Regions from separate parts of the Homo sapiens genome. Here all the other regions are linked to region 3. The links are contacts of gene promoters, found by promoter capture Hi-C in blood cells and fetal thymus (Javierre and others, 2016). All regions are on one chromosome and are shown on one strand. Each heading gives the region's core, a stretch centred on a gene start or on the middle of the fragment in contact. The rest is flanking DNA. Distances are from core to core; before and after follow the strand shown. Region 1 has its middle 4.6 kb from the start of PCDHB15. Region 2 holds the start of PCDHB6 (protocadherin beta 6). Region 3 holds the start of DIAPH1-AS1 (DIAPH1 antisense RNA 1).

The links. Contacts are between HindIII fragments. The CHiCAGO score rates a contact against its expected background, and 5 or more counts as called.
Region 1: a fragment that was not itself captured here is called in contact with the fragment with the promoter of DIAPH1-AS1 in region 3 in 3 of 17 cell types (endothelial precursors, fetal thymus and naive B cells); the score reaches 13.7 in endothelial precursors.
Region 2: the fragment with the promoter of PCDHB6 here is called in contact with the fragment with the promoter of DIAPH1-AS1 in region 3 in 2 of 17 cell types (naive CD8 T cells and naive CD4 T cells); the score reaches 7.6 in naive CD8 T cells.

The regions. Positions count from the first base shown.
Region 1 is chr5:141,239,413-141,242,178 of GRCh38, reverse strand. It overlaps PCDHB@ and the pseudogene PCDHB19P. Among named protein-coding and RNA genes, the nearest start is that of PCDHB15, 4.6 kb to the left of the region's middle. The HindIII fragment of the contact is 3,709 bases long and covers 1-2,766 here.
Region 2 is chr5:141,148,666-141,151,400 of GRCh38, reverse strand. It overlaps PCDHB6 (protocadherin beta 6), which reads right to left and starts at 1,344. Exons shown (of 1, transcript NM_018939.4): 1 at 1-1,344. The coding sequence starts at 1,143. It also overlaps PCDHB@. The HindIII fragment of the contact is 6,099 bases long and covers 1-2,735 here.
Region 3 is chr5:141,556,997-141,559,696 of GRCh38, reverse strand. It overlaps DIAPH1-AS1 (DIAPH1 antisense RNA 1), which reads right to left and starts at 1,386. Exons shown (of 3, transcript NR_038333.1): 1 at 1,210-1,386. All of the region lies in intron 18 of DIAPH1 (diaphanous related formin 1), which reads left to right. RefSeq lists enhancers at 1,501-1,795, 1,556-2,408. The HindIII fragment of the contact is 6,603 bases long and covers 1-2,700 here.

The DNA of each region.
Region 1 (2,766 bases), core at 183-2,682, 320 kb after region 3:
GCGTCAGAAACACTTCATACTTGTACCTCTGGGATAGGGTCCTGGTGTCGCTCACGTCCACCAGATGCCTGGAAAGGGGTCCTCGGGCACCGAGCAGCGACCCAATGAGGCCTCCCTGCTCCTCCTGCACAGCCGCACCGCCACGAACAGGAGCACCGAGAAGAGGAAGAACGACGACACCAAGGCCAACGCCACCACCAGGTAGACGGTGAGCAAGTCGGCCTGGGCCTGGGCCGGGGCCGCTTCAGGGAACGGCAAGTAGGGCAGGGAGAAGCCATCCACCAGGAGCACGTGCAGCGTGGCGGTGGCCGAGCGCGGAGGCTCGCCATTGTCCTTGACCAGGACCATCAGCCTGTGCTTGGCTGTGTCACGCTCGCTCAGCAGCCTGTCAGTGCATTGTGCGCCCACACGCCGAACAGCCCTGGCTCCGTGGCCTTGAGCAACTGCTACGACAGCCAGGCGTTCTGGCCCGAGTCACCGTCCACCGCCACCACCTTGGTCACCAGGTAGCCCGGCTCGGCGGCCCGCCCGGGGCATCAGCTCGGTGCAGGGCGCGGAGCCGTTCTGCAGCGGGAACAGCACGAAGAGTGAGCTGTCGTTGGCGTCCAGCACCAGCACGCGCACCAGCGCCTCGCTGCTCAGCGCCGTGGAGCCGCGGTCTGAAGCGCCCACGCGGAACTCGAACTCCTGCAGGGCCTCGTAGTCCAGCGACCTGAGGGCGAACAGGTGGCCGTTGTCTGTGTTGATGGAGACCAGGGAGGCGAGGGGCAGGTGCGGGTTCCGGGGCGGCAGCAGCGAGTAGGTGACCTGGATGTTGGTGCCCGAGTCTCTGCGGTGCTGACGCTGCCAATATGCAGGGCGGGGCTGTTGTTCTCGCGGACGAACAGGGTGTAGGAGGTTTAGGTGAAGGTGGGGGCTTTGTCATTGACGTAGGAGACCAGCACCGTTATGTTGTACTCGGTTTTCAGCCTAGGAGTCCCCAAGTCCGTGGCTGTGTTGGTGATGTTGTACTCGGCTCTAATCTCTTTGTCCAGTGGTCCTTCTGTTAACAGCCAGTATAAATTCTCAACGGAAGGTTTCGGCATGAACGGAACATCATTTTGAATTGATCAAACTATTCTTCCATTTTTCCCAGAATCGCGGTCTTGAATGCTGAAAAGAGCTGCAACGGTCTCAGGAGAATTTTCGCGGATGGGGCTTGTGAATGAAGCCATGGTCAGTTCCGGAGCGTTATCGTTGATATCTACCACCTGTATTATGACAGTGCATTTTCCAGAAAGACCTGCCCCATCAGAGGCTTTAATATCCACCTGATATGACACAATTTTTTCAAAATCTAGTTTTCTGATTATTTTAATTTCTCCCCTTCGTTCATTAAGTGCAAATGTCTTAGAAATCTCTTCATCACCATAAAAAATGAGTAGAATATCTCACCATTAATTCCCATGTCTGAATCTCTAGCGGAAACAGTGGCAACAAGGGAATCCAGGGGGCTGTTTTCTGATATCTGCACCTGATAGAGTGGCTACACAAACTCAGGTGCATTGTCATTGATGTCCAAGATTTCAATGAGGACCAGAGCAGTCCCAGTTCTGGGAGGAGTCCCGCCATCTACTGCCATGAGAGTTAACCTGATCTCAGCCTGCTCCTCCCGATCCAGGGCTTTGTCCAGAACCAGCTCTGGGTATTTTCTGCCTTCACTGCCATTTTGGGTGAGAGCGTGGACATGGGAGTAGGGGTAGATGGTGTAGTTTTGGATGTTATTGATGGCCACATCCAAATCTTGTGTATTTTTCAGAGGAAACACAGTTCCTGGAGGAGTATTTTCCATGATTTCAAAATAATTTCTGCTTCTGGGAATACAGGGGAATTGTGTTTATGTCACTGACCAAAAGTTTAAACCTCCAAAGGTTCTTCCAGTAACACTTGGAATTGCAGCACACAAGGCTCAGTGATTCTACACAATTCTTCCCGGTCCAATGTCTCATTTACTTGCAGGTCTCCGGTCTGAAGTTTCAGCTGAAAATATTTTTTGTTATTGTTAAAAATGACCCGAGGCCTCCACTGGTATATTACTCTTACTTCTAGCCCTGGGTCCTTTGTTAGATTGGCCACAAAAGAACCACTTTCTGTTTCTTCTGCTACAGTATATTCCACTCCGCACAGTATATTCCACTCCGCACAAGTCTGAGACAGCATAACAAAGAGAAGCAGCACTTGCCTTATTCTAGGAAAGTGCTCCTTTTCAGCCTCCATTTCTCCAACACCAACAGCATTCAGGGTCCGGATGCCTATGTTGCGTTGGTAGGCAATCTGCTCTGGGAATCAATCCTTGCAGCAACGCAATTTTCGGTTAAGAAAGCCTCTTCTCTTTGATGGATCGAATGAGTGCTAGCACAGTAGTTGAAGAGATTCATTCTAACATTTCAGGAGTGTAAACTTAAGTGATATACTAGCTAAATCTGGTTTATTATGCAAACTCAATAGGTAGCCTAAGAGTTGTGGATAACTTATTTGTGAATATTGCCTAAGGACTGTGAGCTTGTTATGTTGACTTGTTACAGTATCTAAAATAATTTATAAAGAGCATCACCATCTATTGTTAATACTGAGATACACACATGTTGAAGCTGAGAGTCACTGAGACCTTGAAGAGGGAGCCAGCCAAGATCATGGATATAAAGGCTGAAGTTAAAGTAAAAAGTAAAATGCAGAAGAAAATATGTTAAGTTCACCTGAAATAGCAGGTTAAGCATATTCCCAACT
Region 2 (2,735 bases), core at 95-2,594, 410 kb after region 3:
ACAAATAACCTGTTGGTTATGTCCAGAGTCTGCATCTGAAACACTGAAAACTGCCACTGTGATCTCTGGTAAGTTTTCTGGGATGAGGCTGATGAAGAACGACATGGTGAGTTCAGGGGCATTGTCATTCACGTCCAGGACCCTGACGACTAAAGAGCATTTTCCTGATAGGCCTCCACCATCTGTAGCCTCAACATCCACGTCATAAGACTGAATTTCCTCAAAATCCAAAGCCTTTCTCAGCCGAATTTCTCCTGTGATTGCGTTTATTTCGAAGGGTTGGTTGACGTCATCGACTTGAAACAGGGCGTAAGATACCTTCCCAAACGATCCTGCATCTAAATCTCTGGCTGAGACGGTAATAACCAGAGAGCCGAGGGGGTTGTTCTCAGGGACTTGTGCTTCATAGAGCTCCTGAGCAAACTCGGGGACGTTGTCATTGATGTCCAAAACCTGGATCTGAATCTCGGAGGTCCCTGACCGGGGCGGAGACCCGCCATCCAGCGCGATCAGCGTTAGCCTGAGTTGGGGCTGCTCCTCGCGGTCCAACGGTTTGTCTAGCACCAGCTCCGGGAACTTCCTGCCTTCGCTGCGATTGCGGGTGAGAACGTGGAAGTGAGGGTTGGAGCTGATTGTGTACCTCTGAAGGCCGTTGCTGCCGGTGTCTAAATCGTGTGCCATTTTCAAAGGAAATATCTTTCCTGGCATAGTAATTTCTGATATTTTCAGGAGCATTTCTCTGGCAGGGAATTCCGGGGCGTGGTCATTTATATCTCTGACTCGCAAGGAAGCCTGAAAAAACTGCAAGGGGTTTTCCAGTAACACTTGGAAAGGTAGCACACACGGCTCAGTGGAGCCACACAGCTCCTCCCGGTCCAGTTTTTCATTTAGCAGTAAATCATGGGTCTGTGGATCAAACTGCAAATGTTGTCTGTTCCCTTTGAAAACAACCCGAGCGCCCCGCGAAGCCAGCTCCCCCACCCTCAGTCCCAGGTCCTTTGTCAAGTTGGCCACAAACGTGCCACTTTCTGTCTCCTCCAATACGGAATACTGAATCGATTCAGAACCCACCTCTCCCCAAAGCATCAATAAAATGAAGAAAGCCACTTGCCTTTTCTTGTTCTGTACTTTAGTTTGCATCATGTCTATTATGTCTGAATACGGAAGAAAAATCCTTTTCAGCTCCCAATCACCACATCTACCGTCGACCCTCTCGGATGTCTTTGCAGAGATTTTTAAATTCGTTCTTACAACTTGTCTGGCGACGACTGCCTTCCCGGACACATCTATCTCAGCTTTAGCTGTAAACGTGGTCTGTATTTTTACTTGGCTTCTGGATGAAACGGAGTCCACCGAGTCTGCAGAGCTTTCATTCACTCTCTTAGCTTGTACCGCCACCACGCGTTCAAACTAATAACTTCATGAGATGTTTTCAGGTCAATAGCATTTCAGAAATCTGAGCATTATAAAGACTTTTAAGTCGAGTCAGTGTTTCTCAAACTGAGTGCGTGGACCGCATGCATAAATAATTGCTTGCGAGCGTTGGTTTTTTTGTGTGTATGTTTTTGTTTTTAAGCCAATTCCTGGGTTCACTCCCCTCTAGAACTTGAATCAAATTCCCTGGTGGTGCTAATTAAGGAGAAAGATTGAAGTGCAGATTCTACACTTCAGTCTTTCTCCTTTGATGCTTCAGCAGTGCAATTTATCTCTGATGAACTATTTAATCTATTAGTCCAAGAGGTACACTATTTAATTGTCCCAACAAACAATGCAAAACAACGAAGTTTGTTAGCAACAATAATGGTAAAATAAACAATAAATTATCTAAATTATATGACTCATAAATGGCATGAAAAAAAAAACCTACTTTGTTATATAGTTATGCCTGCACAGTAAAAAGAACAATTAGGCTATTAGGAGGAAAACTGAGGCCAAGAAGTACGTATGATACATGTATCTAAGTAAATTAAAGTATTTAAAAGAGGGACTAGAAGCAATCAAGTAGTTGTCATAAGCATTTTAGGATTCTACTCCATTTTTGCATGGATAGAATTAGACATTGTTTTAACAGTCTTGTGCATTTTATTTTTTGATCAAATTCCCCTCTTACATTATTTAATCAAGGTCCAAATATATTACCGTGTTGTACAAACATGATGCAACACAGAAAACAAACATTCAAGAATCACCTTCACCGTCTTCTCACAGCAAAAAGAACACCAAGTCCAATAAATACAGGCCAAATTAAGGTACTGTTAAAACAGGTGAGTTACATTTGAGTGAATGCCATGGAATTCAATGATGGAATATTATGGCTATATCCATTCCCATCTCACTAGTTTCTACTCAGATACATTGGAACATGTATCTCTAAACAAACTGAAAATGTGTGAAATAGATTAGTGCACATAGAAGAGGTAAAATATGCCAAACAATTCAATTCATTTCAGATTAATTTCATATTTATTGAGAGGTGAAATCAATTGAGTTCAAACAAAGTTCACTTCAGGTAAGGGCCAAGGTGATAGAAGATTAAAAATCAAGATATTTTCAAATACATAAATGCTAGGCAAAACAAATAAGGCTAAATAAAATCTAAACTCTGAATAGCTGAGATGATCTTGTAGTTCAAAATCACCTCTATGTAGCCAGAAAAACAAAAGATTATGAATGTGACCAGCCTCCAGGGTTCACTTGATAGATGCTACTGGGAACACACTGTTCCTTGAGAATGT
Region 3 (2,700 bases), core at 137-2,636:
CTTTTTAGCACTCCCTAATTGAGTCACCATCCTGGGTGTGCTGGGAAAGTATCTGTGGGAAACTCAATGACTATATTATCTGAAAGACCAAATGCTTGGTGAAGTGCCCAGATTTTTAATACTGCTTTTCTGCTACCCTTCCAGACTTATATCTGTCCCCTTCTTTATAACTCTCAGCATCTGGTTCTTCCTTTGGGATTCTGTGTGGCTTTGTTCTTGTCCTTTAGGTTTGTTCATTAATGCCAGTTTGCCCTGTCCCTCCTTACAGCTTGCACATCTGTAATGGTCTAGTTCTGTGGGATTTTGCAGATAGTTGTATATTTTGGCCAAGGTATCAGTGATACGGTTACCTTTGGGCAGGGATAACTGCTATTCGGTTGGCATGATATTTTTTCCTTCTATAATGTATACCTTAGTGATTGTTTTAAAGTGCTGAATTTATCCCTTATGTATATTACAACCATGAAGAATATAAATCAGAAGTCCTCCATTTGGGCAGCTTCTTATATTAACACTTATATTAACATTAAGACCCTCTTACTGTCTCCTCTTCCCAGAATTAGAGAGTTGATGTAGTGCTTAATAGACATGGCTTATTGTATGCTAGGTGAACTTGGCAATTCCATAGCTATGTTACCCTCACAGAAAGTTATTTCCTGGAGAGATTATTAAGTGTTCTGATCTTTCATATATGCCTGAGAGATCTAAGATTCTTCCACAAAGACCCTATTTCTTCAGAGAAAACTATAGTGATGCCAGAGTCTTTTTTTTTTTTTTTTTAACAACTTGTGATTTTTGTGCACCTGTGTTGTATGTGTTGCCATTATCTCACTTTAGGGACGTTGGATAAACTGGCGTATTTGTGCAGCCTCATTTAAGTAGTGGCAACCATTAATGACTTGTACCCACAAGTTTTTCCAGATAATTTCTGTTTTTTCCACCTTTCTTACATGTTCTTTTTTAGTCATAGGTACTTGGCTTACTCAAGGGAGGTGTAGCGTAAGATAAAGATAATGGAGGGTGTTCCCTGTAGAATAGGTACAAATGCTGCAGGCTTTATCTTGGGCAGAGCAAGTAGGGTTTTGGTCCTGAGTAAGTGAGTGAGGTTAGGTGGAGCTGCCTGTCTTCCAGCCGTGCGGATACAACTGACTCAGTCCGTGTTCTCAACAGTTTTTGAAAAGCCCATTTTTCTATCCCACTTACTCCCACCTGCAGTTCTTTAAGAACGTAGTTTCCAGGATGTCAGGCAACTCCCCACTCCTCCATTTCCTGTTTGTGGTCTTCATTGAGAGACGCCTTAAACAGGAATTCCTGGGGAAGTGCAGGCTATAGCGGTGGGATTCCGGGGGTCATTAGTCCATTATTGAAGCTGGGGAATCATGTACTATAAAAGGACCTCCCTTCCGTTCTGTTGTCTCCTAGAAACTATTACTGATCATAACCAAGCAGTAACTGCAACTCAGGGCTGTTGACTTGTGCCCTTTGTCTTTAGAGACTGAAAATTATTTTCCCTTCTTGTGCCTCAGTTTCTATTAGTTGAATTTTAGAGCTCAACATCAAGATTTGTGACAAAATTAACTTGGACTCTGTAGGACTGATTCGTTTGAAATGCAAAAGTAGTGAAGAACATAAAACAGACTCCCTATCTTGGCCGCCAGGGGGTGCCCTTTCCCTTCGCTTTACTGTCTGGCACTCCCCACCGCATTCAGCCATTTTAGACAGATTGTTTTTGCTCCCAGCTAACTCCATTTTGTATTTGTGACGCAGGAATAAAAAAAGGAGTTAGGCAAAGGAGGAGTCTGGTTTGCAGAGGGAGGGAGACTGGCTGAGGCGCAGCTACGTACTCTTTTACTCAGCAGTTGCTCATCAGGGACACACCTTGCTGCAGGCTGCCTGCATCCTGAGCAATCGATGCCGCAAGTCCTTGCCAGCGGAGCACAGAGCAAAATGGTTTGGCTGCCGGACACCTACTAACAGTGACAGAGTGCTAGCTTTTGAGGCAGCAGGCCAGGGCATCCCCTCTGCCTCATCTAGACTCTAATCCTGGGTTTAGGTGTTTTTGCTACAGAGATGTTTAGGGCAGTTTTCTTAATTATAGGATCAGATAAGAAAAGATACCCCCAAAAAAAGAAGAAAAAAAGGAACCCCTTTCACTTAGCTGTCTGGGAAGAATCAAATGCCCCAAGGACTCTAGGGAAATGGTCCTGAATTTTTTTAAAAAATGTTATTTTTGAAACCGTGAAAAAAATGCACGCACACATACACACATATATGTAAAGAGACTAGTATGAACACCCCTATGTCCATCACCCATTTAAAAAACTTAATCAACAGCTAGTCTTGTTTCATATACCTGTATCAACTTTGTCTTTGCCACCCATTATTTTTACATGTATCCTTGTTCATATTATTTAATCCTTAAGCAGTTCAGAATGTGTGTCAAAAAAATTAGGACTTTTAAAAGAAGATAATTACTACCATTATCACATTTAAAAAATTCTTTATCATCAGATAGCCAGTTAGTATTAAATTTCCCAAATTATCTTATGATAGTTGTTTTTTTTAATAGTTCATTTGAATCAGAGCCAAATAAAGTCTACACATTGCAGTTGGTTGATGTCTCTATAGGTTCTCTCTTATGCTCTTTTTTATTTTTTATTTTGCAATTTATTTATAGACTTAATTTCTTTTAAAAAGATC